6 separate regions of the Homo sapiens genome follow, and all the other regions are linked to region 1. The links are contacts of gene promoters, found by promoter capture Hi-C in blood cells and fetal thymus (Javierre and others, 2016). All regions are on one chromosome and are shown on one strand. The core of a region is centred on a gene start or on the middle of the fragment in contact, and the rest is flanking DNA. Distances in the headings are between cores, read along the strand shown. Region 1 holds the start of JAK2 (Janus kinase 2). Region 2 overlaps INCR1 (interferon stimulated noncoding RNA 1). Region 3 overlaps ERMP1 (endoplasmic reticulum metallopeptidase 1). Region 4 overlaps INCR1 (interferon stimulated noncoding RNA 1). Region 5 overlaps PDCD1LG2 (programmed cell death 1 ligand 2). Region 6 overlaps INCR1 (interferon stimulated noncoding RNA 1).

Evidence for each region. Contacts are between HindIII fragments. The CHiCAGO score rates a contact against its expected background, and 5 or more counts as called.
Region 2: a contact is called between a fragment that was not itself captured here and the fragment with the promoter of JAK2 in region 1, in 2 of 17 cell types (M0 macrophages and neutrophils). The highest score is 5.3, in M0 macrophages.
Region 3: a fragment that was not itself captured here is called in contact with the fragment with the promoter of JAK2 in region 1 in 1 of 17 cell types (naive B cells); the score reaches 5.3 in naive B cells.
Region 4: a contact is called between a fragment that was not itself captured here and the fragment with the promoter of JAK2 in region 1, in 8 of 17 cell types (M2 macrophages, monocytes, M0 macrophages and 5 more). The highest score is 8.6, in M2 macrophages.
Region 5: a fragment that was not itself captured here is called in contact with the fragment with the promoter of JAK2 in region 1 in 2 of 17 cell types (M2 macrophages and M0 macrophages); the score reaches 5.9 in M2 macrophages.
Region 6: a fragment that was not itself captured here is called in contact with the fragment with the promoter of JAK2 in region 1 in 8 of 17 cell types (neutrophils, erythroblasts, M1 macrophages and 5 more); the score reaches 15.2 in neutrophils.

What each region holds. Positions count from the first base shown.
Region 1 is chr9:4,982,857-4,987,016 of GRCh38, reverse strand. It overlaps JAK2 (Janus kinase 2), which reads right to left and starts at 1,745. Exons shown (of 25, transcript NM_004972.4): 1 at 1,387-1,745; 2 at 995-1,077. RefSeq lists enhancers at 943-992, 1,793-1,932, 1,861-2,694 and silencers at 1,323-1,652, 2,043-2,122, 2,163-2,212, 3,663-3,792. The HindIII fragment of the contact is 8,817 bases long and covers 577-4,160 here.
Region 2 is chr9:5,576,213-5,580,806 of GRCh38, reverse strand. The region is part of intron 1 of INCR1 (interferon stimulated noncoding RNA 1); the gene reads left to right. Among named protein-coding and RNA genes, the nearest start is that of RIC1, 51 kb to the left of the region's middle. The HindIII fragment of the contact is 7,807 bases long and covers 1-4,594 here.
Region 3 is chr9:5,828,143-5,832,778 of GRCh38, reverse strand. It overlaps ERMP1 (endoplasmic reticulum metallopeptidase 1), which reads left to right. Exons shown (of 15, transcript NM_024896.3): 1 at 1-89; 2 at 1,751-2,052. Among named protein-coding and RNA genes, the nearest start is that of ERMP1, 2.7 kb to the left of the region's middle. RefSeq lists a silencer at 1-95. The HindIII fragment of the contact is 813 bases long and covers 844-1,656 here.
Region 4 is chr9:5,615,387-5,620,199 of GRCh38, reverse strand. All of the region lies in intron 1 of INCR1 (interferon stimulated noncoding RNA 1), which reads left to right. Among named protein-coding and RNA genes, the nearest start is that of RIC1, 11 kb to the left of the region's middle. The HindIII fragment of the contact is 9,723 bases long and covers 1-4,813 here.
Region 5 is chr9:5,560,219-5,564,482 of GRCh38, reverse strand. It overlaps PDCD1LG2 (programmed cell death 1 ligand 2), which reads right to left. Exons shown (of 7, transcript NM_025239.4): 6 at 1,272-1,321. All of the region lies in intron 1 of INCR1 (interferon stimulated noncoding RNA 1), which reads left to right. Among named protein-coding and RNA genes, the nearest start is that of PDCD1LG2, 52 kb to the right of the region's middle. RefSeq lists a silencer at 1,220-1,319. The HindIII fragment of the contact is 3,406 bases long and covers 770-4,175 here.
Region 6 is chr9:5,595,385-5,599,815 of GRCh38, reverse strand. All of the region lies in intron 1 of INCR1 (interferon stimulated noncoding RNA 1), which reads left to right. Among named protein-coding and RNA genes, the nearest start is that of RIC1, 32 kb to the left of the region's middle. The HindIII fragment of the contact is 9,312 bases long and covers 1-4,431 here.

The DNA.
Region 1 (4,160 bases), core at 496-2,995:
GATGGGGGAAGGGAGGCCAAAAATTGATTATTCATCTTCAAATGTTCTGGGTGTTATATCAAAATACAAGCTGATCATCCCTTATCTGAAAAGCTGCAAAATCTGAAACATTTTGAGCACCAACATGATGCTACAAGGGGAAAATTCCCCGCATAGGTACTTAATACAAACTTTGTTTCATGCACAGACGTATTAAAAATATTGCAAATGACTTAGTGGCTGTGTGAATAAGGTCTATATGAAACAAACGAATTTCGTATTTACACTTGGGTCCCATCCTCAAGATGTCTGATTTTGTATATGCAAACATTCCAAAATTTTTAAAAAAAATCCAAAACACTTTTGGTCCCAAGCATTCTGGAGAAGGGATACAAAATCTTTATTTGCAGTAGCCCAACAACTCACTGTACAAACTTATTATGAAACCAAAAGCAATCATTTCCCTTATTCCCACTTCCAGTTTCCTTCTCCATACTCAGCCGCTCCTACCCTTTCATTCAGAGAAATGGAGTTTCTCCTAACAGATTAGTAATTACTGGAAAACAAACTGGGTAAATTCAACCGACACAGCAAGCTTAGGCAGATAAAACCATGAGGAAACATTCAATGTGGTAGCAGAAACCCCAGCAAGAATAGCTAACGTGTTCTCCCAAAAGCTATCTCTTATTGCTTGGAAATACTCCTCTTTAAAGGATTAAGAATCTCTGGCTGCTTAAGAAGAAAGGGTAATGGACAACGTTTTTCGTTTCTCTGCAAAGTCACGTTATGTGTAAAGCCAACAAAAAAATGTTTCTTAAAGGATCCAAGACGAACAACAAAACACCCCAAAATTACTCTCCCAGATCAACATTAAAAGTTTAGCACTGACATTTTCAGAAGAGTAAGCAACAATGAGCCCTGCCTCTCTTCACACGCTTCCAACCTTCCCTACGCACGCACTCCCAGCTCCAGACACCTTCGCCTTTACTGCAGCGATAAAGGACAGCACACCCACCGTCGCGGGAGGAGGAGGAAGAGCCTCTTTTTCTGCAGAAGAGAAACAGTTCACATCTTGTTCCTGTTGCCTGCTTCTGAAACCTAAAAACAGAAGCAGCAGTTAACTACTACCACATAAATCCAGGGGAAACAAATGCTTTTTCTAGGCTGTTTAAGTGTCTAGAAAATTTTAAAAAGGAATAAGGAGGCGGGAGCGAGGGAATTATAAGACACAAATGGAAGCAAATATCACCAGCAAGACTCGTTCTAGGTGTCGTCTTAAAGAGGAAGATTTTTCTGGCTCAGAAGTTTGCTGCCACTAGCAGGGGGCAGGCGGGACCAAAAGGTAGGAAGGGGGTGGAGAGACAGCTGCTGCCCCCCACCCAGAAGCCAGGCAGAGATAACACCCACCGGCTACACAGATCGGGCGACCAGAGCGCGCCCTCGAGCCCGCAGGGGCGGCTCCTACCCGGCGGGTCAAGGTCTGCGAAGCCCCGGGACGGGCACGGCTCTGAACGACCTCCAGGCTGGGCCCTCGGGGGCCCTCCAGTGTGGGCTCAGCTCCCACTCACATCCCTCGGCAGCGAGGACCAGGCCTCTCCCTGCGCCGCAGCAGCCCTCAGCCCCGACGCGCGCCGCAAGCCCGGGCCGAGGGGCCCGACCGGCCGAGAAGCCGAAGTGGCGACGCGAACACCCAAGCGAGCCGGGCGCCGGCCCAGCCTGTCAGCGCCGAGGGAGGCCGTTAGCGGCGTCCGCTGCTGCCCCCTTCTGCTCCTCTTCCTCTCTCCTTCCTGCAGCCCCACACCACTCCCACTTCGGGCAGCCGGGAAGCCCGTCACAGTTGTCTCCACCCTCTCCGGGGCCACACCGTCTTCTCAACGCCGCGGGCGACACTGGCTTCGCCGCCCTGCTAGCTTCGAACTCAGCCTCCCGGTTGGCCTGCAGTCTCCCCGAATGGCAGGAGACCGGGCCGGATAGAGGCTGGGGGAGAGCCGGACGCGCGTCCTGCAGTGCGCGTGCGCCGCTCGGTGCTGGTCGCGGGACCGGCAGGCGCGGGCCACGCAGGGCAGCTGCCTCTCGGGAAGCCGGCGAGCGCGCGTGGAGATTCCTGGGACGGCCCCTGGGCGTGAGCGCGCAAGGAAGTTAAGGCGGCGGCGCCTCGCGAAACGCTGGTGCCCGGCTGGAGCTAGGCGCCAGCGCTGGGCCCGGCCCTCACTAGATGGGCGGGTGTGTGTGTGGCCGCCGCCCTCCAGGGAAGCGGCCGGGAGTGACTCACCCTGGCTGGCTCCCCAGCGCGCAGCCTGCACTGGAGGAGGCCGGGCTGCCTCCGCGCGGAGACTCCCCTCCCGCACACTTCTCCGCTTTCGGCTTTTCCTTCCACCTCCCGGGTACAGCAGACCCGTCCTTCCCCAGTCCAGGCTGCTAGGCCGAGGGGAAGTGGCGCCGGGGGCCGGGGACAACGCGCTCACACACGCTGTTTCGTGGCAATGCGCCCTCGAGAGCCTGACTCCCATCAGCCACCTTGGCTGGAAAGGGGTGAGGGTGGGATGAAGCGCCCAGCCGCCTGCGGGTTGGCAACAAGGCCTAGCGAATGTTTCTCCTAGAGGAGAAACAACTTTACCGGCGTGGCCTGGTGTAGCCCGGGAGAGGGTGGAGACAACGGCTGTGACGGGCTTCCCGGCTGCCAAAGGGCCTCATTCATTCATTCAAATATTTACTGAGTGTCTACTAGGTGCCGGGCTGTAGGTCCCCAGAGATACCAGGTGAACACGACCCCACACACTCCTTGCCCTACTGGATTGTATTCTGATGGAAGCGACAAAACAACAAACAACGCTTTAAATGCATAATGTGCGGGGTGTGTAATTGCCACTAAGAAAATGCATAGTTTTCTGCTGCCATATACATAATAACAAAGAAAAGGAGTAGAAAGTGAGGAGGGGGTGTGCTATTTTACGGTGGCCAGGAACGATTTCCTAGAATAAGTGACATTTGAGCAGAGATCTGAAGGATGAGAATGAACCAGTCCCATGACTATCTGGGAAAAGAATTTCAGGCAGAGGGACTCCTGAAGGCAAAGACCTTGAGAAGGGAAAGTGTTTGGCAAGTTCAAGGATCAGGAAAGAGGTCACTGTGGCTGGAGGACACGGAAGGAGGGGGCAGTGGTAAGAGGTGAGGCCAAAGAAGTAGCCTGGCACCAGATCGTGTAGGGATTTTTTTCAAGTATTAGCCCTCTTTCTGTCAACCTAAATGAAGTGACGCATTCATAGCTCCTGTTTCCCCATACACAACTGATGCTGCTCTTCAGGTCTGTCTTGCACTTAATGGTTTCTTTAAATAAACCTCACCAAAGCAACTCCTGCATTTCTTCTTACATAAGACCCATTGCAAAAGGTCTTTAAGCAAATGATAGCAGCATAGGAAATTACTTGAATTCACCCTGAATCTTTTAAATAATGAACTAGAGCTGTATAAGAGGGAGGGATTTACAGGAAAATTGCATTCCTACGGCTACTGCTTCATAGGTAATATATGGGCAAAGTTAGTAAGAATTTCTAATTATTAATTGTGACTCAATGGCTTAGAATATCAAGGCCGCAATTACAAACAGTGACTACCAAAAGAGTTCCTTTTTTCCTGCAAACAAAAACTGCTACTGAGGTAAAAGCTAGAACACAGACCCACATAATGAAGAAGAGCTAAAGATGAGCTTAACGTCATGGGTAAATGAAAAGCATCACAACTGTGGAAATGGAAATGTGATATTTTGTGAGGGGAAGAAAATGCTTGTTTTAGAACTCTGAAACAGTATTACTTTCATTATAAGTGATGTTTCTATATTTTGCAGTGATATACTTATGTAACTAGGCATGGTATCTCTTACTGTCCACAGCCTGTTTGCAGGGAGAAGCCATTTGAAATTGGTGAATTGCAGGGAGAAGCCATTTGGAAGTGGTGAATATTGAGGATATTTTTGTGGGGGAGCAGGTTATTTTCTTAATATTAGAGATGTGGGTATGGAAGACAAGGTGGACAAGGGGTATATTATTCATAAGCCTATAGAATTGAGAAATCTTCTGTCTCCCCACATAGAAAGATGAAGCAACTTGCCTCCTGTCATTCAGAAAGTGAAAGCCTCCCTCATCACTAAGACATGATTTTAAGTCAATGCTAACCTGGAATGT
Region 2 (4,594 bases), core at 747-3,246, 590 kb before region 1:
GTGGAATTTCCCTTTTCTGTTCTCATGATAATGAGTGAGTTCTTATGAGATCTGGTTGTTTAAAAGTGTGTAGCACCTCCCCCTGCTCTCCCTCTTCCTTTCTCAGGCCATGTAAGACCTGCCTGCTTCTCCTGCACCTTCTGCCATGATTGTAAGTTTCCTGAGGCTTCCCCAGCCTTGCTTCCTGTATAGCCTGTGGAACTGTGAGTCAATAAAATCTCTTTTCTTTATAAATTACCCAGTCTTAGGTAGTTCTTTATAGCAATGCAAGAACGGACTAATACACGTGTAAAATAGACAAGACAATACACTAAGTTATGAAGTTTAAATGAGATCATACATGTGAAGCTATTAGAGCAATGTCTGGTGCATGGTATGGAGATTAGCTATAATGGCAAACTTAATTAAACCTCATTTTGGATACCAGCAATGAGACATTGGCAATCTAATGTTTCAAACCCAGCACAAGGAGGAACATGTAGTCCAAACCCTGCCCAGCACTTTAAAACAGACATATCCCATGACAGGCTGTAAATACATTATCAGGAAAGACAACGCACTGAAAATATATTTTGTCTGAAATTTAGAAATATGTCCCCCAGGGGTGTTATATGATAGTGATATTTTTCTTATAATAGACACCTAACACCTTCTGCTATACCTTCTAGTAGAAGTCCACAGATGCATTTGGGCAATTGCAACATCTTAGCACAAAAGATGTCACTTTGATTCACTCTCCACTTTCAGTTCATGTGGTCTGGGTGGAGCTCCAGATGTAAGATATCACTTACATACTCTTTCTTTCAGTGACTGGTTCTGGAGAGGGCACAGCACATAAGTTTTCCACTGTAAATCTCAGGATTTTGCTGAGAATGCTGAGAAAAATACTCTGGCTTTTTTTTCTTGTAAAATATTTGAATCTGAAAGGTTTAATAATCATTGGCATCCATCTTGTAATTATGAGGAGATATCTTGTCTGAGAATGGCATCAACAAAAAGGAAACAGAGTGAAGAAATGATAGAGACAATTTGAATCCTGAAGACATTTGTTAGACCCCCTATACCCAGTTGCACATTTGGCTGCTCAGTTACATAAGCCAACACATTATCTTTTAAAAATTTAAGCCAGTTTGCATCAGGTTTTCTCTCATTTGCAGCCAATGAATTTTGATACAACTTCTACAAAATGTACTTAAAGGCCCGGGTGCGGTGGCTCACGCCTGTAATCCCAGCACTTTGGGAGGCTGAGGTGGGCAGATCACGAGGTCAGGAGATTGAGACCATCCTGGCTAACACGGTGAAACCCCGTCTCTACTAAAAATACAAAAAATTAGCCGGGCATGGCGGCGCACACCTGTAGTCCTAGCTACTTGGGAGGCTGAGGCGGGAGAATGGCATGAACCTGGGAGGCGGAGCTAGTAGTGAGCCGAGATCTTGCCACTGCACTCCAGCCTGGGCGACAGAGTGAGACTCCGTCTCAAAAATAAATAAATAAATAAATAAATAAATAAATAAATAAATAAATAAATAAGTTTATTTTGTCCTATGCTCATGGTCAAAGCAGATGCCCAATTTTTATTTTTCTCATAAAACCAATCAACAAATATACATTGGGCCCTTGTTACAGGGTCAGATGCCACAGAGTTTAAGACAATTCCTTGTGCTACAATCTAATTGGAATTTATAGTCTCTTTATTTTTTATCTCTTAATGGATATGTCTCCACTTCATCCAGATAGATTTTGATTGAGGAGTGAGTTGGTTATGTACCTCCTGTTCTCAACTCTAAGTCCATCCTCCTCTCCTCTGCTCTGATGTGCCAGGGCTGGAATTTTGACAAACTTCATTTGCCAGCCTCCCTTGCCAGCTAGCTTCCTGTTAAGTTCAGTAAATGGGAAGGCCTTGGGGACTGGAAGGTGGGAGGGGGAATTATTTCCTGTTTCTAGTTCCTGAATGTGTCATGCCTGTAGCAATAGGTAGTAGAAAGGTAGCTGCTGTCTGTAGTTCTAATATTTGGCATCCACTTTTTTGCTCTTTCAGTCTTCTTATATCTTTATTACAAGTTCCTAATATTAAATACACTCTATTTTTATGACTGGACTCTGGCTGATACTAGCACTTGATACTAGGTGTGGTCATAGGAAACAGATTCTCAAATTCTGACATTCTGGGATTGATTTGATTTGTTGTTAGTGTTGGATTGGTTTGAATTGAGAGCTGAACTCTTTGCCACTAGTAATCTATGGCATGCATTGACATCATGGTTGATTAAATTATCATCTGTTCTTGCTAGGGTTGAATACCAATGAAAGGCAAGTTTCTGGAGGCCAAGTAGCTGTTGCATTTAACCATTATGGTAGTAAAGATGATTATAAGGAATGTAATGTGGGATGGCTGCTTCTGATTGCACCAGGGTGCTTACAGGAAGAAACTAACAAGTTTAGGGCTTTCACCTCAAATCATATTCAGAGCACCAGAGGGCTTCTAAGACTGCCCTGAAAGTACCTCTTATTCCTTCTAATTACAGGAATCACTAGACATGAAAGACATGACTGAAAAATTCAACCCAAATCAATCATTCACAGACTGGCTAAGTCTCATATGTGAAAGTTTTCTCAGTAATTTGAAAGGAGTAGGACTCTGAGACTAGGAATGGGGACATTTTGGTGGATTTGGATGAAACTGAGAATGTTGAAACCCCCAAGCATCCCTGAGTTTCCCTTGATAGTGGAAGAAGCCTCTCATTTCTTGTCTAATGATATTAGCCTTTCCTTGTTTGAAAGCCTGTAATAAGCCCATATGAGGCACTTGCCTTGCAAGGGAGATCCCTATTCTTTCTCAGCCCCAGTGCTCCCAACTCTCATGGCCTTTATTTAGAGTCAGTTCCCGGAATATACGGAGGTGGGAAGAGCAGAGTCTAGCTCAGCAGGAAAAGTCTTATACTTCAAAAGAATCATAAGATTTTGTTAACTTAACATTAGAGGAAACCAGGCTAGTATGTATGGGGATGAATTCTAAAGGTATTAGACCCAGGAGCACAGAAGATAACATTGAACTGGGGCCAAATTAAGGTAGTCCTGATATACTACACTTTCCAGATAGTTTTGGACTTAATGTTGTAGATGATTACAGTAGTGGTATCACGCCTTCATGTAATTCCTTTACACATTGATTTTTGGCATGGTTATGTGCTTGCTTTGGATAATGGAACATTATTAGCAAATGTGATACAAACAGAGACTTGGAAAGCACTTGCACATTGGGGTTTTCTTTCTTTTTTGCTGTTTTTGGATTAGACTCTATGTTGAAGATGCCTGGACTAACCTACTGAAGATACGTGGTTTTACCAACAGCCAGCACCAATAGGAAGATATGAATGAAGCCATCTGAGACCAGCCATCTGGCAGCCAAACTGCCAACTGACTGCAAATGCATGAATGATCCCACTGACACCACGTAGAGCACAAATGAGTTGCCTCCACTGAGCCCAGCCCAAATTGTTATCCTATAAAATCATAAAAACATAAACAGTTGTTTTAAGTCACTAAGTTTTGGATAGTTTGTTATACAACAAAAGCTAGCTGAAACAAATGTATTAGCTAGAGCAGCTGTGAATGGCACTATTTGCTTAGTTGATTGGCTGAAATTTGGACTCACTGGTAGGTTACATTTAATGGTGTTGAGTTGCCAGAATTTCTCTGGAATAATGTATAGGAAGGATTCTAATGGCCTAAGCCATTAGAATCTCTAAGGAGATAGAAATAAAGGAGTGATTTATTATATGTAACTGTGCCTCTTCCCTCACCACACTTGGTCCTGAAAGAGCCTAAGGAATAGTTTCTTCTCTAAAGCATTGAAAAATGCTTTAATGGGAGAAGCCCCAGCACCCTTGAACATGTTCAGGCAGCTGCTTTCTATAGGCCAAGGATGTGGTGGGAAAATCTGCCTGATCTCAATGTAGATGATGAGATCCCAGAGTAGCGATCAGCATTTTTTACCAGCAGGAATAATCTTTGGTGGTGGTTGGCTCTAAGAATTAAATAGATGTGGGCCGGGCGTGGTGGCTCATGCTTGAAATCCCAGCACTTTGGGAGGCTGAGGTGGGTGGATCACCCAAGGTTGGGAGTTCAAGACCAGCCTGACCAACATGGAGAAACCCCGCCTCTACTAAAAATACAAAATTATTTTTGTATGGTGGCACATGCCTGTAATCCTAGCTACTCAGGAGGCTGAGGCAGGAGAATCGCTTGAACCCGGGAGGCGGAGGTTGCAGTGAGCTGAGATTGTGCCATTGCACTCCAGCCTGGGCAACAAGAGTGAAACTCCGTCACACACACACACAAAAAAAGAATTAAATAGATAATAGATGTGTAGCCTGCCAAAGCATTACTTGATCTGTATAATAGAAACCAGACCTGAGGTAACACATGCATGGTGATATGTGCCTATAGTCCCAGCTACTCAGGAAGCTGAGGTGGGAGAATCACTTGAGCCTGGGAGGTCAAGGCTACAGTGAGCCATGATTGTACCACTGCACTCCAGCCTGGGAGACAGAGTGAGACCCTGTCTCAAAATAAAATAAAATAATAAAATAA
Region 3 (4,636 bases), core at 1-2,500, 850 kb before region 1:
CTGCGGACGCTGGTGCAGCTCTCGCTGCAGCAGCTCGTGCTACGCGGGGCCGCTGGACACCGCGGGGAGTTCGACGCGCTCCAAGCCAGGTACCGGCCGCTCCCTCCTGGCACGGCCCGCGCGTCCGTTTGCGGCTCCTGCGCAGGCTCCGGGGCACCGCACCTGTGTGCACCCGCCCCTGCCGGACCGCTGGGACTCGCTGACCCCTCCCAGGCTGCACGTGGGGTGGGGTGACCTTGCTTGTCCTTCTTCTGGGGTCTGAATTGCCGGGACTTGGGGCTTGCCTGTCCCCGGTTAAGCTCGTGGTGCAGATTGGGGTTGCCAGGTAGATTGAACCTGCTTTCCACTGTCTGCCCTTCGTGCAGATGGTTGGTTGTGAGTCGTCTCCCCATATTCTGGAACAGCTTCCCCTTTTTACCTTGCTTAGCCCTTCTGCTTTCCAGATGGAAATTTGTGTACCTAGACTGTTGTATAAATTCGCTTTGGGGGCGGGGAGTTTTGGAAGGCGCTAGTGCACTGTTCTAACTTTCTGAGGGTTACAGCCCCCACATCTGAAGGCTATAGAAACTCTTTCTGGAACACCGCCCAGTCAAAATTTGGTATGCAGTCTGATAAATTCTCAGATCCCTGCAGTTTATCTTTAGGCCCCTTGGATTAGTGACTGTGTAAGGTTTGACTTTTTTTTTTTTTTTTAAGACCTTTAAGAATGCTAGGAAAGGTGATTAAGTCAAAGATATTGTAACCCAGGTGTGTCAAAGCTCATGAAGTGTTAAGCTGGCGTCAAGTTTTCAACAGCTACTGTGTTCTAAAAAGTTTTTGCTAGAATGCAAAGTGTTGCAAGCTTATTAAGGACTTTCTGAAACGTCTCCCACCCCCACTTCCAGCTTTCCCCACTTGGAATGCAGTGAAAAGACAAAAACAGTTTTGTTTTCATTAGGGGTACAGTTGGTTTTGGCCTGAATTGAAGTTATTAGACCTTGGGTGTATGCTAGGAGGGCTAGGTCCATCAAAAGTTTCCCCCGCCCGCCTTATTTAACCTCTTGACTTGATTATTTTTGCTCATTGGTTTCTGCTACTTAAAGTCATTAACCCAGAATCTGTAACGTTCAGGAGTATGCACAGTGAAGTTATATTCTATCCTGCTTAGTCTTTAGCTTTTTTTGTTTGTTTTCTGAGACAGGGCCTGGCTCTGTCGCCCAGGCTGGAGTGCAGTGGCTCCATCTCGGGTCTGTAGCCTCCACCTCCCAGGTTCAAGCAGTCCTCCCACCTCAGCCTCTTGAGTAGCTGGGACTACAGGCGGATAGTAGTCTACATCTGGCTAGTTTTTGTAGTTTTAGAAGAGATGGGGTTTCACCATGTTGCCCAGGCTGGTCTCAAACTCCTGAGCTCAAGCAATCCACCCACCTCAGCCTCCGAAAGTCCTGGGATTACAGGCGTGAGCCACCGTGCCTGGCCAGTGGTCACACGTTTTGAATACATCCCTAGTCCTTGTATTGGTTTGATATGGGGAGAAGTTGGGAGTGGGATGGTGGAGAAAACTGAAGGGGTCAACTCGTGGGAGGCAACAATAAAAATATGGAACTTTATAAGTGATGTTCACTTGGTGTCTGAAATAATGAAAGGCGGTCCCTTTTATATAAGGCAAAGAACTAAGCTTTTTTGGGGAGGAAGGGGTGTGTAGTGGAAAAGTTACCCACGCTAAGTGTCAATTTTAACTACAAACCTTTGTTATTCTTTTGGTTACTTCCAGGGATTATCTTGAACACATAACCTCCATTGGCCCCAGGACTACAGGAAGTCCAGAAAATGAAATTCTGACCGTGCACTACCTTTTGGAACAGATTAAACTGATTGAAGTGCAAAGCAACAGCCTTCATAAGATTTCAGTAGATGTACAACGGCCCACAGGCTCTTTTAGCATTGATTTCTTGGGAGGTTTTACAAGCTATTATGACAACATCACCAATGTTGTGGTAAAGCTGGAACCCAGAGATGGAGCCCAGCATGCTGTCTTGGCTAATTGTCATTTTGACTCAGTAGCAAACTCACCAGGTATGTACCTGTTTTTTAGTCATTTGGAACTTGTCACAGCCCAGAAAGTTTATTAACATAACCCCAAGCTACTTGGGCAATTGTGGGGACCATTTTCTTGGGCAAACCTTTTTTCTTTGTGATGGAAAGCAGGATAATTAGGATAGTATCATTTAGTTTAGGATCTAACCATTCTGTCTTCTCTTAAGTGCTTTATTAATATTATTTTTTGGTGTTAATGCCAGCAGCCCAGTGATAAGACTTGGAATGTTTCTGGTAGACTGAAGCAGCTTTCTCAATGTTACCAGACAGTGTGTGTGTCCTAGTGTCCTGGAGTTAGGTTCTGACACTTAGAAAGTGTTTTACTCAGCTGGGTGTTATACTAGGCTTTGGGGATACCACATAAGGACAGTCCCTGCCTTCAAGGGTTACTGCATGGTTTTAGAGCAGGGGTGTCCAATCTTTTGGCTGCCCTGGGCCACATTGGAAGAAGAAGAATTGTCATGGGCCACACATAATATACACTAATGATGGCTGATGAGCTTAAAAAAAAAAACTCATGTTTTAAGAAAGTTTACAAATTTGTATTGGGCTGCATTCAAAGCTGTCCTGGGCTGCGGGTTGGCGGATATCTCTTCTAGCAGATTCTGTTGACCTATAAAGTGAGAATTTTGCTCCACTGAGGGTGCCATACTGTTAAAGTACCTAATTAATGTGTAAATCTTTCTCTGAAAATCATTTGGCAAAATAGAATACTTGCATTTAGGACAGTGCCTGATGCAGTATATATTTGTCAAATGAATGGGAATCCCCTAAATTGAACTTCCATTTATTAAAATATTTATTTTTCAGAAAATTGTATTCAGTGGTTAAAGGGATTGTAAATAGGGATGGAAAATAGCATTTACAATGGCATAGCATTTTAGTGGTAGACAAGACCTGAGATGGCATCTGGCTGAACCCCTCATTTGATACAGGAGTACATTTAGCTAGCTGGTCATCGCTGATCAGAGACAAAACTAGGATAAGATGCTGGATTTCCTGGCCAGTCAGTTCTTTCAGCTACATTTGAAAGGAAAAAGAATATTAGGGTGTAATTAATACTCCCTTTTGCAAATTGCTTAACTTCTTAGTTTCTCATCTGTGTAATGGAGAAAATAATAGTACTTTCCTAATAGTGTTGCTTGGAGGATTAAAAATAAGTAAAACGCTAAAATAGTACCTGGCATGGAAAGTGATTTTTAAAAGTTTTTATTAACTCTTATGTAATATTAACACTTCTGGATTACTCGAACTTATAGCAGGCCAAATTTGAACGTCTAGAGTTATACAAAATGTAAGTAAAATTTATTTGCTTGATAAAATGATTCATATTAGAATATCTTCATTTAGAAAGCTTGACAATTGCGTTTAGAATGTAACTTGCATTTTCAAAAATCAGTATACACACGTTTGTTAAATAAGCCAGAAGTACCTTCGTGTGCTGCTGGGGTAACCAGTGGTTTAGTGTTTTTTTTTTTTTTTTTTTGGCTGGGGGGCCAAGTCTCACTCTGTCACCAGGCTGGCATGCAGTGGCACAATCTTGGCTCACTGCATCCTCTGCCTCCCGGGTTTAAGCGATTCTCCTACTGTGCCACCACACTCGGCTGATTTTTTTTGTATTTTTGGCAGCGACAGGGTTTCACCATGTTGGCCAGGCTGGTCTTGAACTCCTGACCTCAAGTGATCCGCCTACCTCAGTCTCCCAAATTTCTGAGATTATAGGTGTGAGCCACTGTGCCCGGCCACCAGTGGTTTTTTTATGTCCATTTCAAAGCAGTAATAAATGTCACTCTTTGCCCACTATTATGATGCTTAAATTCTGGGAAGCGGCAAATAAACACCATGGTTGCTTAAGAACATTATATAAGAAGGCTGTATATACAAGAATTAGCAGCAAATGTAGGGACAAAAGAAAAAAGTTTCCCCTCTACCCTTCATAGTTCTTAGCTGAGTGGACCCCTGTAACAAAAGACAGGTTAAAAAGAGAAAAACCAAATAGAAGTTTATTAACACATGCACTTCATGTACATGGGAGATACTCAAGGAAAATGAGTACATCTCAAAGAGGTGGCTTAGAAATCTGGCTTATGTAGCATCTTCAACCAAACAATACATTTTTAGAGAAGTGACAAAGGAAAAGGACCTTGAGTCTCGAGGGGTGGCAAATTGAAGGAAGGCAAATAAATGGTAGAGAAAGGTTAGTTAGTAAAGTGTTATATAGATTCCTTTTGTGCTGTTGCCAGGCCACCAAAAGTTTAAAGTTGTCTTTCTTGATCAACCTTTGTACTTCCTGGTGGAAAGGGGAAGTGGGGACACCTTGGTAAATGTATACCCTGCTTTTAGGCAAACAAGGGGAGGGCAGAGAGCTTTTTTGTATAGTACCTGCTTCTCAGTTGCCTTCAGCTCAAAATAATCCGTATGTCAAAGTGACATATTTTGGAGTGCATATTCAGTTACTCTTTACAAACATAGTGCCAAATGTTACAGATTGTATATGTGGAGTCTAATAATTAAAGGCCAGCATTTTTGTGAGCCATTAGAACCCACTTTTTATTATTATGTT
Region 4 (4,813 bases), core at 1,888-4,387, 630 kb before region 1:
TTGAGGCAGGAGTATCACTTGATCCCAGGAGTTCCAGGTTGCAGTGAGCTTTAGTCACGCCACTGCACTCCAGTGTGTGTGACAGAGTGAGACCCTGTCAAAAAAAAAAAAAAAACTTAACAGTGGAACAAGATGTGGAGGTGTAAGACACTAATATTAATGACCTGACCCCGTGTAATCCTAGGCTTACGTAGTTGTGTCTTAGTTTTTAACAAAAATGTTTTAAAAGTTTTTAAAAATTAAATTTTTTAACAATAGGCCGGGCGTGGTAGCTCATGGCTGTAATCCCAGCATTTTGGGAGGCCAAGGTGGGCGGATCACTTGAGGCCAGGAGTTCGAGACCAGCCTGGCCAACATAGCGAAACCCTATCTCTACAAAAAATTTAAAAAATACAAAAATTAGCCGGGTGTGGTGGTGTGCACCTGTAATCCCAGCTACTCAGGAGGCTGAGGCACGAGAATCTCTTGAACCTGGGAGGTAGAGGTTGTAATGAGCTGGATCCCACCACTACACTACAGCCTAGGCGACAGAGTGAGACTGTGTCTGAGAAAAAATAAAAATAAAAATGGGCCACGCTTGGTGGCTCACGCCTGTAATCCCAGCACTTTGGGAGGCTGAGGCAGGTGGATCACGAGGTCAGGAGTTTGAGACCAGCCTGGCCAACATGGTGAAACCCTGTCTCTACTAAAAATACAAAAATTAGCCAGGCGTGGTGGTGGGCGCCTGTAATCCCAGCTACTTGGGAGGCTGAGGCAGGAGAATTGCTTGAACCCAGGAGGCGGAGGTTGTGGTGAGCCGAGATAGCGCCATTGCACTCCAGCCTGGGCAACACAGCGAGACTCCAACTCAAATAAATAATAAAATAAAAATGGATAAGAGCTTATAGAATAAGAATATAAAGAAAGAAAATAGTTTTTATACAGTTGCACAACATATTTGTGTTTTAAGCTGTTATTACAAGAGTTTAAAAGTTTAAAAAACTAAAGTTTATAAAGTAAAAAATTACAGTAAGCAAAGGTTAATTTATTATTGAAGAAAGAAAAATTTGTAAATAAATTTATTGCCTAAGTGTACAGTGTTTATAAAGTCTACAGTGGTGTATAGGAATGTTCTGGGCCTTCATATTCACTCACCACTCATCCAGTGACACCCAGAGCAACTTCCAGTCCTGCAAGCTCCATTCATAGTAAGTGCCTTGTATGGGTGTATCATTTTTTTTTAAATCTTTTATACCGTATTTTTACTGTAACTTTTCTGTGTTTAGATATGCAAATACTTATTGTGTTATAATTGCCTATAGTATTCAGTACAGTAACATGCTGTACAGGTATGTAACCTAGCAGCAATATGTTATATTGTCTAGGTATGTAGCAGACTACAACATCTAGTTTGGTGTAGACTCTTTGTTCACAGGGTGACAAAATTGTCTAACAATGCATTTCTCAGAACATATCCTTGTCATTAGGCAGTGTGTGACTGTACTTGGGAGTTCACTGTGTTATCTGCTCCACTTTGGTATGTGGTTGACATTTTAAATAATATTAATAAAAAATGTAAACATTTAAATTGAAAAGAACATGTCAGTAACTGGTCATATGTGACTAACCAGTCTACTTTGTCCACAATTCTCCTCACAGTTCATAGTGTTAAATATTAGTTCAAATCATTTAATTAACCTTAAAGGCAGGATGGCTTATTGTTAAGCCTTAATGGATCTGAGTGAGACTTTCTGGGCTGGAGCATTAGCACAAACTGGAAAATAAAGCCAAACAGCCTACTATTGCTAACCAAGCAAAATGGGAAGGGTCGTTATGTTTGCTCTTCACTTTAGTCTTTTTAGAAATGAAAACTGATTGGAAACAGAATTGATTCTACATAAATTAGCCAACAGTAACAATTGTGTTTGACCATGTCCCTATCAGTTCTCTAGTATAAAAAAAAAAAGTCATACCTGCATTTTCAGTGTGTATTCTTTACTAAAATGGCAAGAGGAGTTGGAACAAGACATTTTTAACCCTATAATTCTGAGATTCCCACCCTACTCTCTATTCAGACAAATATGCCTTCAATAATTTAGCCAAAATTTCATATTCATTGTGTCAGTCCATTATCTCCTGTATGTATCAGTGAACTTAGAGTCAAATTCATTACCCAATCATGACAGACTTTTTTCATCTAGCAGAACTGAAACTCTATACCCATGAAACATCAACTTCCCTTTCCTCCTTTTCCCCAGACCCTAATAACCATCATTCTGCTTTCTGTTTCTGTGAATTTGACTACTTCAGATATCACATATGAGTAGAATCATACAGTATTTGTCTTTTTGTGCTTGGCCTGTTTCACTTAGCATAATGCCCTGAAGGTCTATCAGTGTTGTAGCATGTGACAGGATATCTTTCCTTGTTAAGACTGAATAACATTTCATTGCATGTATATAGCACATTTTGTTAATCCATTCATCCGTCCATGGACATTTGAGTTGCTTCCACAACTTGGCTGTTGTAAATCTTGGCTATTGTAAATAGTGATGTTACGAACATGGGTGTGCAAATATCTTTTAGAGACCCTACTTTCAATTCTTTTGGATATATACGCAGAAGTGGGATTGCTGAATCATATGGTACTTCTACTTTTCAAATTTTTTAGGGACCTCCATACTCTTTTCCATAGTGGTTGCACCATTTTACAATCCCACCAACAGTGCACATGGGTTCCAATTTTTCCATATCCTTGCTAACACTTGTTATATTCAGGCTTTGTTTTTGTTTTTGCTTTTAAATGATAGCTATCCTAATGGGTGTGGTTTTGGTTTGCATTTCTCTGATGATTAGTGATGTTGAGCATTTTTTCATATACTTGTTGGCCATTTGTGTATCACCTTTGGAGAAATGTTACTACCTTTGATATACTGTCACATCAGGAGATCTGCATAAAAGGTCAAACCCCAAGAGGAAATCTTTAACTTTTGGGGGATATAATTTTAAATTATCTGTCAAGTTTGAATGGGGTTATTCCTTATACTTAAAAGAGTTATAACAATCTTACAAGTATGACATCTTAGTCAGAATGGGCCTTAAACACATCCAGTCCAATCTCCTGACCCAACAAGAATATAAGTGGATTTCATAGAGTAAATTTATATATATTTCAAACATAGAAATCATTTATAAAAGCCATTAAGAGTTGGTATAAAAGGAATATACCTGTGAAACTGAACAACCAATACACTTGAATGTAAGAACTTGAAAAGAGATATGGAAAAATGGCTACCAAATGCCCCCCAAAATACATTATTTCCTTTATTGTCTTTTATTTAAAAAAATTAGGACAGCTATATTTGCAGTCATCATCTCCTGAAAATATAATTATTAATTTTTTCTGTTCTGAGCACTTTCTAATTTTTCTTTTATCATCAAAAAATAATAAGTACTATTTTTAAAATTGTTAATTTGTTATCAAGGAGATCAGTTTTCCCAAAGTGTGGTCCAGTCATCTGGATCAGAATTGTCTAGAGATATATTTAAAATACAGATTCCTTGGCCAAGTCCCAGGCTTTCTGAATCCGGAGTCCTTGATGTTGATGGTATGGCCCAAGAATTAGCATTTTTAACAAATATCCACTATGAGTCTCATGCATATTAATAAGGTTGACATTTCTTTAGGAGGAAAAAAAAGTGTCCGGTGTGTACTTTGAATATGGTCTGGAATCTCTGTACTCAACCTTCTGTTAGTTTGTAAACAAGTCAAAAAGTGCACTGGATTCCTGGGAGATATGGCCATGATCCCTTCTCCAGCAGATCTGAATTTTCTTGATTTCCTAATGAGAGAGCTGTCTAAGGATGTAAAAATTGTGCTGTGAAAACCAGATAAGACCAAGTAGTGGAAGTGACCTTGGGTCATTCAATAGCAATTATGGGCAAGTTAAACCTGACCACCTGGCCCCTGCTGATCACCTTCATATTGCCCTGCTAGCCCTAAGTTACCTTTAACCGTTTTTTTACCTGCAGGTGGAAATGTTAATATCTGTCATACCAGGTTGTTATTTTTTTAAGTGCTAGAAACCAGGCACTGGCATTAATCTGTGCCTTTAGTGGTATATTGTGGATTAGTCACAAAGAACTTTGTGTCTAATGATTGGTACTGTTACATAAATTATAACAGTAACTAGCATTTATTCTGCACTTATGTACTAGATACTGCTCTAAGCATTTTACATTATTTAATTTTTATCCTCTCAACAATCACATGAGATACATATTATCCCCATTTTACAGATGAGGAAATTGGGGCTTAGAGAAGCTCAAGGCTCACAGAGCTGGAAAGTGATGGAGTCAAAACTTGAACCCAGAATCCCCAAGTTTATCAACTTCACTATACCATCTCTTTCCACAAACTTATTTTCTCACCAACTAAATGTATATAATAATTTATGTCAGGCTGTCTTATTAACTACATTTTTTTTAACTCCTAAGGTATTTGTTTTTACTCAATCCTTCATGTATAAAATTACTTTGCTAAAGAAATGAAGGAAATCAGTATTTTCACATTTACTTGGAGAATAATATCTTGTGTATCTTAGGCAAAAATGAAAACAATAATTTATCTAAAGGGTCATGTGAATTCTTGAAAATAAACAGTGCTGTAGATCTTTCTGTGGCATACATCCATGGATGTAAAAGTAAGAGAGGGAAGAAGGAATCACATCACCCAGGTATGATGTTGAAGGCTATAAATGAATCAAAGAGTTAACATTTAACAATAGGATCATATTTTAACACCATTTTCTTTCTTTCTTTTTCTTTTTTCTTT
Region 5 (4,264 bases), core at 1,223-3,722, 580 kb before region 1:
TCTCTTCATTGTACCAAGGCATCATTTCCAAAATTTTGGTTTGATTTTGTTAAATCATTTTGGCTACAGGGTGCCCCCACTCCCCACCTAGATTTACTCAGATATTCATTGCTATTGCATCCAAATACTTAGAGTGGTAGATTCTGATATCACAGATGTCCTTTTGTTGCTGAAAGTTTGAGAGGCAGTGAGCTGAGAAAAATCCTGCTGAACTAAACAAAAACCCAAAACTGGTAGTCTGCATGCAATCTAGGTTGGCATGTTCATGCATGAACAGGTATTAGACAGAACCCTGGCCTCTTGGACAACTCCAATGACCAAATAGTAGTTGGTTACTTACTTCTGTTTATAAAGGCTCATGCAGGAATGACAAATTGACTTACTTCAGCCAAATATATGGCCAAGACTGCCCCCCTCATCTCTTGGTGCCTGTGATGATTAATTTTATGTGTCATCTTGGCTATGGTGCTCAGTTGCTTAGTCAAATGCTAGTCTATATGTTGCTGTGAAAGTATTTTGTAGATGTAATTATCATTTGCTATCAGTTAACTTGAAGTAAAGCTGATTATCTCCCATGATGTAGGTTGGCTTCATTCAATCAGTTGAGGGCCTTAAGAGCAAAAAACTGAGGTTTCCCAGAAAAGATGGAATTCTGCCTCAAGACTGTAAGGTAGAAATCCTGCCTGGGTTTCCAGACTGCTGGCCTGCCCTACACATTTCAAACTTGCCAGCCCCCACAATCATGTGCTGCTTCCCCTGAGTCTAAGCTTTTCATCCAACCAGGCTTAATGATTTTAGTAACCCACTTCTTCTGACCCCTAGATCATATCCTTCCTCCTCCACAGATTCCAGCTCCAAACCTGTCAACCTCATGAAGAGACTTGTGTTTTTCCCATATTACTCTTGACTCAGAGCCCACAACAATGTACTTCTTAATCATTGTTTGTTGCAAAAACATCCATTGTCAATTGCATCGCAGTTGAATATCTTCTCTTTGCTGTTCGATTTTAACTCTGTTTCTAACTATGTGAGACCAGAGGTCCAGTGCAGTATCATCTAGGAGTGCTTAGGAATATAGACCGAGCAAAAGATGGCATGATTGTTCTGGGGCTAAGAACGAGGCTTCGCTGAAATGCTACCAAACAGGAAGATTCTATAAGCTGGAACTATTCAGTTGCCTTCCATGAATTAATAGAACAGTGGTTACTTTAAAATTCAAGCTGAGAGAGAAAAGAAAGTAAGAAAGAAAAGTAAAAATCATGCTTACTCACAGCACTGTTCACTTCCCTCTTTGTTGTGGTGACAGGTCTTTTTGTTGTGTCTGAAAAGGAAAAATTCCAGAAATGGAATAAGATTAATGAGAAAACTGTTTGGCTTATAGATTAAAATATGGCAGGACAAAAAGTAAATCTAAATAAATCCACATAGCGAAGCCCAAATGTTCACTGTGGCCTGGGACTTCGGATGGTAATGCATAAAGCAAAATCTGGCCCCTAGGCAAAGAGTGTGAACAAAGAAGTCTCACACTTTCCATTCCTCTGTCTACTCCTGGCCCTCAGGCACTTAAAGGCTGAGGGACTAATTTGGGTATTCAATCCAGGAAATGTCTGGCTGCAGAATTAGCTCTCCCTTTTCTGCTTTAGTCTTGACTGCTACTTCTGCCTGCCTTCCCTGGTCCAGGTCAGAATGTCTGATCAATTAATTTTGCACTAAGGTATAAGTGACTGATACTGGCTCAAAGTAACTCAAGTTACTGGTTCAGAAGCACAAGTTCACATAATGGGATGCTGCTCACCAGTAAGTTTCCTTGATTTCACATCTTTCTTTTAATTTTTTTTTTATATCAATAGGTTTAGGGGTACAGGTGGTTTTTGGTTACATGGATGAATTGTATACTGGTGAAGTCTGAATTTTAGTGCACCCGTCACCCAAATAGTGTACATTGAACTCAATATGCAGCTTTTTTATTCCTCACTGCCACTCCCTACTCTCTCCTTCTGAGTCTCCCATGCCCATTATACCACTCTGTATGCCTTTGCATATCCATAGCTTAGCTCCCACTTACAAGTGAGAATATATGGTATTTGGTTTTCCATTCCTGAGTTACTTCACTTGGAATAATGACCTCCAGTTCCATCCAAGTTGTTGCAAAACACATTATCTCATTCTTTTTCATGGCTGAGTAGTATTCCATGGTGTATATATACCACATTTTCTTTATCCACTTATTCGTCAATGGGATCTTAGGTTGGTTTCATATCTTTGCAATCATGAATAGGTTTTCACTTTTTTCTTAACCTCTGATTTCACATATTCCCTCCCACTCTGATTCTCTTTTAGGATTTAATGCCCAACTCCTGCCATTGCCTGGGTTCCTGAAATCAGTCCATTCCTAATTCTGCTTTTGCCCTATATACCAGGTTTTTAGTAATTCCCTCATGACTATCCTGAGCTTGGCCTGGAATTTGGAGGTCTCTATTCAGCACTGTAGTCTCTTTCATGAGGGTTTGCATTTGAAAGGAGCCCAATGGTTAACCCATAGGAATTGCTCTTGAATGTTGGCTTCAGTGGGTACCTCATTTATGCCTGAGGTTAGTGCTGCCATTCTCTGTGGGCCACAGGTAACCATAAACCAGCATATTTGGTCTTTAAACCTCTGTAAAATTCTGGCTCAATCTTCTAGGGCTGTGCCACTTAGAGTCTGGTTCATGGGCTGGTGCTGGTAGGTGAACTGTTACCAGCCTATGATGATAACTGTTCCTTCACAAGAGAGTTTAAGAAACACTGTTCTGAAGATCTGAAGACATGTTCTAAAGATCTAGATTCTGTAGCTGGTGACTTCTGCTGGATTCTAACTTGACTTTGCCATTGGCTCAGCAAGTCAATGTATAAGTCACTCAATTATTTTGGATTGAAACTTACTTTCTCCTTCCATTGTTCAAAGATAATAATATTGACTGAACCAATTTGTATTAAGCACTTTTGCAACAAATAGGCCACAAGTTTTGGAGTCAAACAGACCTGTATTCAAATCCCAGCTGTATGACTTTGGGAAGTCATATAACTTTTCTGAGCCTCACTTTCTTAACTCCAGCATAAAGACACTTCTCCTTGCCACAAGCAATTTTTGTGAAATTAAATGAGAAGTTTGTAAAGGGTCTAGCACAGTGGTTTTCAGTAGAACTTTCTGCAATGATGGAAATGTTGTATATCTGTACTGTCCAATACAGGAGCAATTATCTGTACATGGCTATTGAGCACTTACAGTGTGTGAATACTTAAGATGTGACTGATGAATTTTTATTTAACTTAAAAAGAGCCACAGATGGCTATTATATTGGACAGAGCAGATCTAGCATACTCACCTGCATATAGTAGGTTCAATGTTTAAAATTTCATTGAACATTTATTATATGCCAGGTAATTTTTTAGACACTGGGCATATATTGGTGAATCAGAGAAACACAGTTACTGTATTCTTGAAACGTAAAGACAAGCAGATGAAGCAGAATTTAACATTATTTTGCAACAGAAGTTGCCAGCTTCTTCTCTAGAGCCCAGCAGGTCACCCTCGAGCCCCAAACTGTTGAATGGTTCCTCTTAGGGGAAAATGGTAAGCAGGACCTTTTATGGACCAATAATGGCTGCCCTCCCAATACACTTTAGTACACAGAGCTAGTCACTGAGGTATAGGTGGGTAAATCTGTTCAGGAGCTAAGAAGCCATCTGGAAGGAAAGGGACCAAGCCTGCTGCTTCTTTACTTAACTTTGCAATGGACTAAGAAATTCAGGATACCAATGGCCCTAAGAGGAACTGAAGAGAAGGAAGTTAGGACTGGCGTCCCAGGCTCAACATGAGGGCCTAGAAGGGAAGAGGCTGGCTGTGTGCAGCTGTGGCTAAGGCAGGGACCTCCTCCTACCTCATCAACCCATAGGGGTCCTGCTTTGGGACCAATGACAGAGCATGTGTTGGGGAACCATAAGAACTGTAATCTTGTAGCACTGTGGTCTGTGTGGGGATCGGAACCAGCAAGGTTACCTTTGCACAGTGGATGGAGACATCTGGAAGGACCAGAGATTCTGCATGGCCGGAGTAGACAGCAACTGCTCAAAACCAGGGCCCTCTGGAGGACTAACCTAGCTGCCTAGCACTGGCCCTGTGGGCTAAGTAAGCTTTCTGGCAGTTTGTGGGAGGTGGAGAAGTACATGCTATAAGAGGGAGACACTGAACTTCTTGCTAAGATGGGCATGTGGGTACTTGAGG
Region 6 (4,431 bases), core at 86-2,585, 610 kb before region 1:
CCCATTGGAAAGTGTCAGCATCCTTTGTTGGGTGCCTTAGCCCTGTCCACAACTTTGTAAATAATTCTGTCACTCAACTCCTCGATGACGCCTTTTGAATATGCCATATATTTCCTGCTGAGATCCTAACTGGTACGTTCTCCTTCCTCACTTCTCTGTCCCACGCCAATTCAGTTCTCCTCTTGAAGCAACCAATTTTAGAAGTTTCCTGTATTTATGCAATATGAGCATAAAGGAATATATCTAGTCCATTTATCCTTTCTTGTGCAAATTGTAGTATATTATATGTCCTGTTCTGCACTGTAGTTGTTTTTTATCCCACATAATAGTATATCCTAGAGATCATTCTATAGCAGTATGTAGGGGTCTTTCTTATTACCTTTTTTTTTTCGGGTTTAGAGCAGAAATTTAATAGGTGAAAGAATGAGAATAGCTCTCTGCTACAGAGAGGGATCCTGGAAAGATAGGTTGCCAATTCACAGTTTGGATACGGAGGCTTTTATAAGAAACGGATAGGGGGCTGGTCATATCATTTGCATAAGGTGTGCATTTCTGGTAATTCCACCCCATCTTCCTAGTGTGGATGTGGGCTCTTAGCTTGAATTACTCCATGTTGCTTCGTTTCCCTTACTGCACATGTGTCAGGGGACAGAATTTTCCATTGCAGGTATGTCTGGGCAAGTCTCCTGTATAGTCTTTCTTATCTATGCAGCTGAGGGGATGTCTTAGTCAAGCCCCCTTATCTCTTGAGCAACTTCCCTTATCTATGCCTGCAACTTGATTTTTTCAGGCTGTTCTTTTGTTTGAAATAATTTAATCTTATTACTTTTTATGGCTGCATTATATTCCATTTTATAGGTGCACAATTTTTAGCCAGCCTTCTATCAACAGACATTTAGGTTGTTTCCAGTCACTTACTTTTACAAATGTTGCTTTAAGGAATAACCTTGTATGTAGGTTATTTCTCCTTATTTTATGTATGAGGAAAATGAAACAGAAAGAGATTAAGTTGTCTAAAGTCAGTCATTGGCAGAGTCTATGTCATTAGTAACACTACTAACACTCAGTTAGTAGAGTGAGACTTGAGTGACCTGTATAGTCTTCATTATGAGACTGGAGTGATCTGAATCTTGCTGAGGGACCCCCACAAAATTTACTGCACATTTCCACTCTTCTTAAAATTTTCACCCTTACACATTTATTTCCTAGCATCATGGTTAAAAGCATGGATTGTATAGCCACAATGCTAGGTTGTATTTTCCACTCCATTACTTATTAGCTGTTGACATTGGACAAGTCACAACCTTTCAGTGCCTCACTTTCCTCATATATAAAATAGTTCCTCATGGTGTTGCTAAGGGCATTAAGTGCCTGCCACATGTTAAGGGCCATATAAGCACTGACTCTTATTAGTAGTGCTCTTATCATTCTTTTGGCTTGTGGCTGTGCTCCATTATTAACATTAAAACACAGCCTGAGAGCTATCTCCTATTTCATCAGTAGTTTACCTTTTATGTAAGTGAGATCATCAGATCACTTCTTGATAGGAAATTAGGGCAGATAATTAGGGATATGTGATATCCCTTGATATGTGAAATGGGGCCTAAATGAAAGGGAGTTTCTGAAGATAACTTCACCCACTTCACAGTTTCATTCTGATATTCCTGTTCACATATACTTAAAACAGTGAGACCCACAAATATTTCCTGAACTGGATTCATTGTCCATAACCCCTCCACCATTCACCATCCTTTACCAACAAAACCAAACCCCATCTTCCTCTCACAAGCCCACATCACATTCAGGTGGATCAATTAACACATCTCAGAATTATCCTTGACTGGTCTCTTCCACATCATCCACATCAAATTTCTTATCAAGCCCTGTAGATTATTAATTCTTAATAGTTTTCATCTTCATTCCCATCCCTTTTTCTCTATCTCCTTTGAGATTGCCTTAACTCATACTCATATTTCTGTGGGCCATTGCAGAACTTTGGTTAGTCTTTCCCACTCTCTCTCCCTCCCCTCCCTCTCTTTCTCTCTTTGCTCTGCAAATATGTATTGAGTGGCTGTTATTTATCAGGCCTTGAACTGGCACAGGGATGCAAAAGTGAATAAGACAGAGGGATCCTAAAGCCAACTGCAACCTTAACGTAATCCTAATACTCAATTCATGAAATTTTTACTCCAAAGAGAATCAGGTATTAAACATACAGTTATACAAATAATTGGTTCAGGATAACAGGAATCTCTGTTTTCTGCTATAGTCTCTCCCTGAAACAGAGAGATTATTAGCTCAGGCTTTATGTCTGGGTGGTGAGGGCTTCCTAGTCTCAGAAATGCATTACAACCTTTGCTTTAGAAAGTCTCTGTGATGGTAAGAACTGGAGTTTGGAGGAGAAGACGAAAGGAAGTGGCCTGACCCTAACGGAAAGGAGAATGCCTGAGACTGTCCTGGATAGGGACTTGGGGGAACAGGTTTGCAGTAGGTTCTATAAGGCTTTGGGATGTTATCACACTTTTGCATAGTTTTCCAAAGACTATGACACTTGCAGTGGGAGAGGCATAGGTAGATGTCTGTGGTGGCCTGGCCTGAGTGCTCTGGCCCCCAAAGCAGTGGCAAGAATTCCTTGTGGAGGACCTGTGGTCAAAAGAGAGAACTTTGTGGGAGCATCTCTGCAGTCTGCCAAGGGCAGTAGGGCCTACCAAATTCCAAAGGACCAGCCCAATGACCTGAGGGACCAAAGACCAGGCCCTCCTCCCTTTTCATGGGGCTGTGTAAGCCCTAGGGCCCTAGTTGGCCTGCCACTGGGTGAGTGTGGTGGGGTGTAATAATTGCAGTTACCTCTGTGTAAGACAATAAAAAATGGTGGCTCCACATGAACCTTATTCCATAAGCTATTTCTATATGGTTAGTTAATTTCTATTCTTTTTCTTAAAAATAAACCAAAAAGGAGTTTTTTTAAAGTCACAAATTAGTTGTGTTATCATGTACATCACAAATTCCCTCTGGGACTCTGTTTCCTTATCTGTGAAATGTGGGGGATGATGTTGGATTTCTGTTCCAGCTCTACTATCCCAAGGTTTTATGTTGTCTCATCCAGAGAACAGAATAGTTAATACAATGACTTGAGAGTTTCTTTCTTTGCTTTAATCATGTTGATTACACTCCCAGCAAAGAAAATGAAAGCTGATGAGATCTATCTACATCACCAAGTATCAGAGTTTATATAATTCATGCTAATTTCTGTAAACTCTCCCTGTAGATGAAACATGCAGTTAGCAGTGAAGTTGAAGCAAGAAATGCTATATCAAGAGCACATGAACTGTCTTTGTTTGAGGCAGATCATGTGAAGTTGATACCGAGATGACTTTCTCACGTGTGACTGGTGACACTGGAAAGAGGAGGAAGGAAATTTTTTGACTTAAGAGACTCTTTATGCTAAATGAACAGGAAAACTCCCCTTCCTCCCTTGAGTAACATGAATCTTACTTGCCACCAGGCCTTTCCAGATGGGGAGTGAACAAGGCTTCATTGGCAAATAGCCAGCTTCTTCCATGGACCTAAGGGGGTTGTTAGAGAATATGCTTTATTGATGTGGCATTTAATTACAGAAGTAGGTATTTTGAGGGAGGAGGGTGAGTAGGAGGAATCAATGTAATTTTTCAACTGGAGAAATAGATTGCTGGATGAGACAGTCATGTGTATTAGAGGTATGGACTCTGGAGACAGACTGCTGTGCTCTTAGCCTGGCTTTGCTACTTACAAGCTCTGTGACTTCGGGCAAATTACTCTCTGTGCCTTATATGTAAACTGGGGACAATAATGGTATCTAGCTCATAGGAGGATTATGTTATAAAGATTAAATAAGTTAGTATTTATAAAGCACATAGAATAGTGCCTGACACATGGTAAGAACTTTACAAAAAGTGTTTGTTGTTGTTGCTGTTATTTTTACATGCCAAGGCACACATATTGACTCAAACTTAGATATTTAAATCAAACTTCAGAACTCAGCTTTAAAGCAGTTCCATACCATATGGTAATAAATTCATCTGCCCGTTATGTGGTTATCAGAGTTAGTTAGATCACTGCAGATTTCTTCTGAGAACCAGGTAAAGAGGTTAAGAAAGAGGAGCTATGTAAGAAGGAAAATGTTGTGGACAGCCAGAAGAAATGTCTTATAACTGGTATTGTAAGTAAGAAATTTTCCAGCCAAACTTTTTCAAAAAAATGATACTGAATTACTTGATAAATCATGTTCTGGGGTTTCTCTAACTTCTCCAGGTGGATTGGAGTAGGTGTGTGTCTATACACCACCAGTATCAAGTGCTTTCAGCTTTCCTCCAAGATGTAGAAACATCAAACAAGTGCATCAAAACTTTTCAATCTATTTTTAAAAATCTAGTCATGTGAGATTATGAAGTG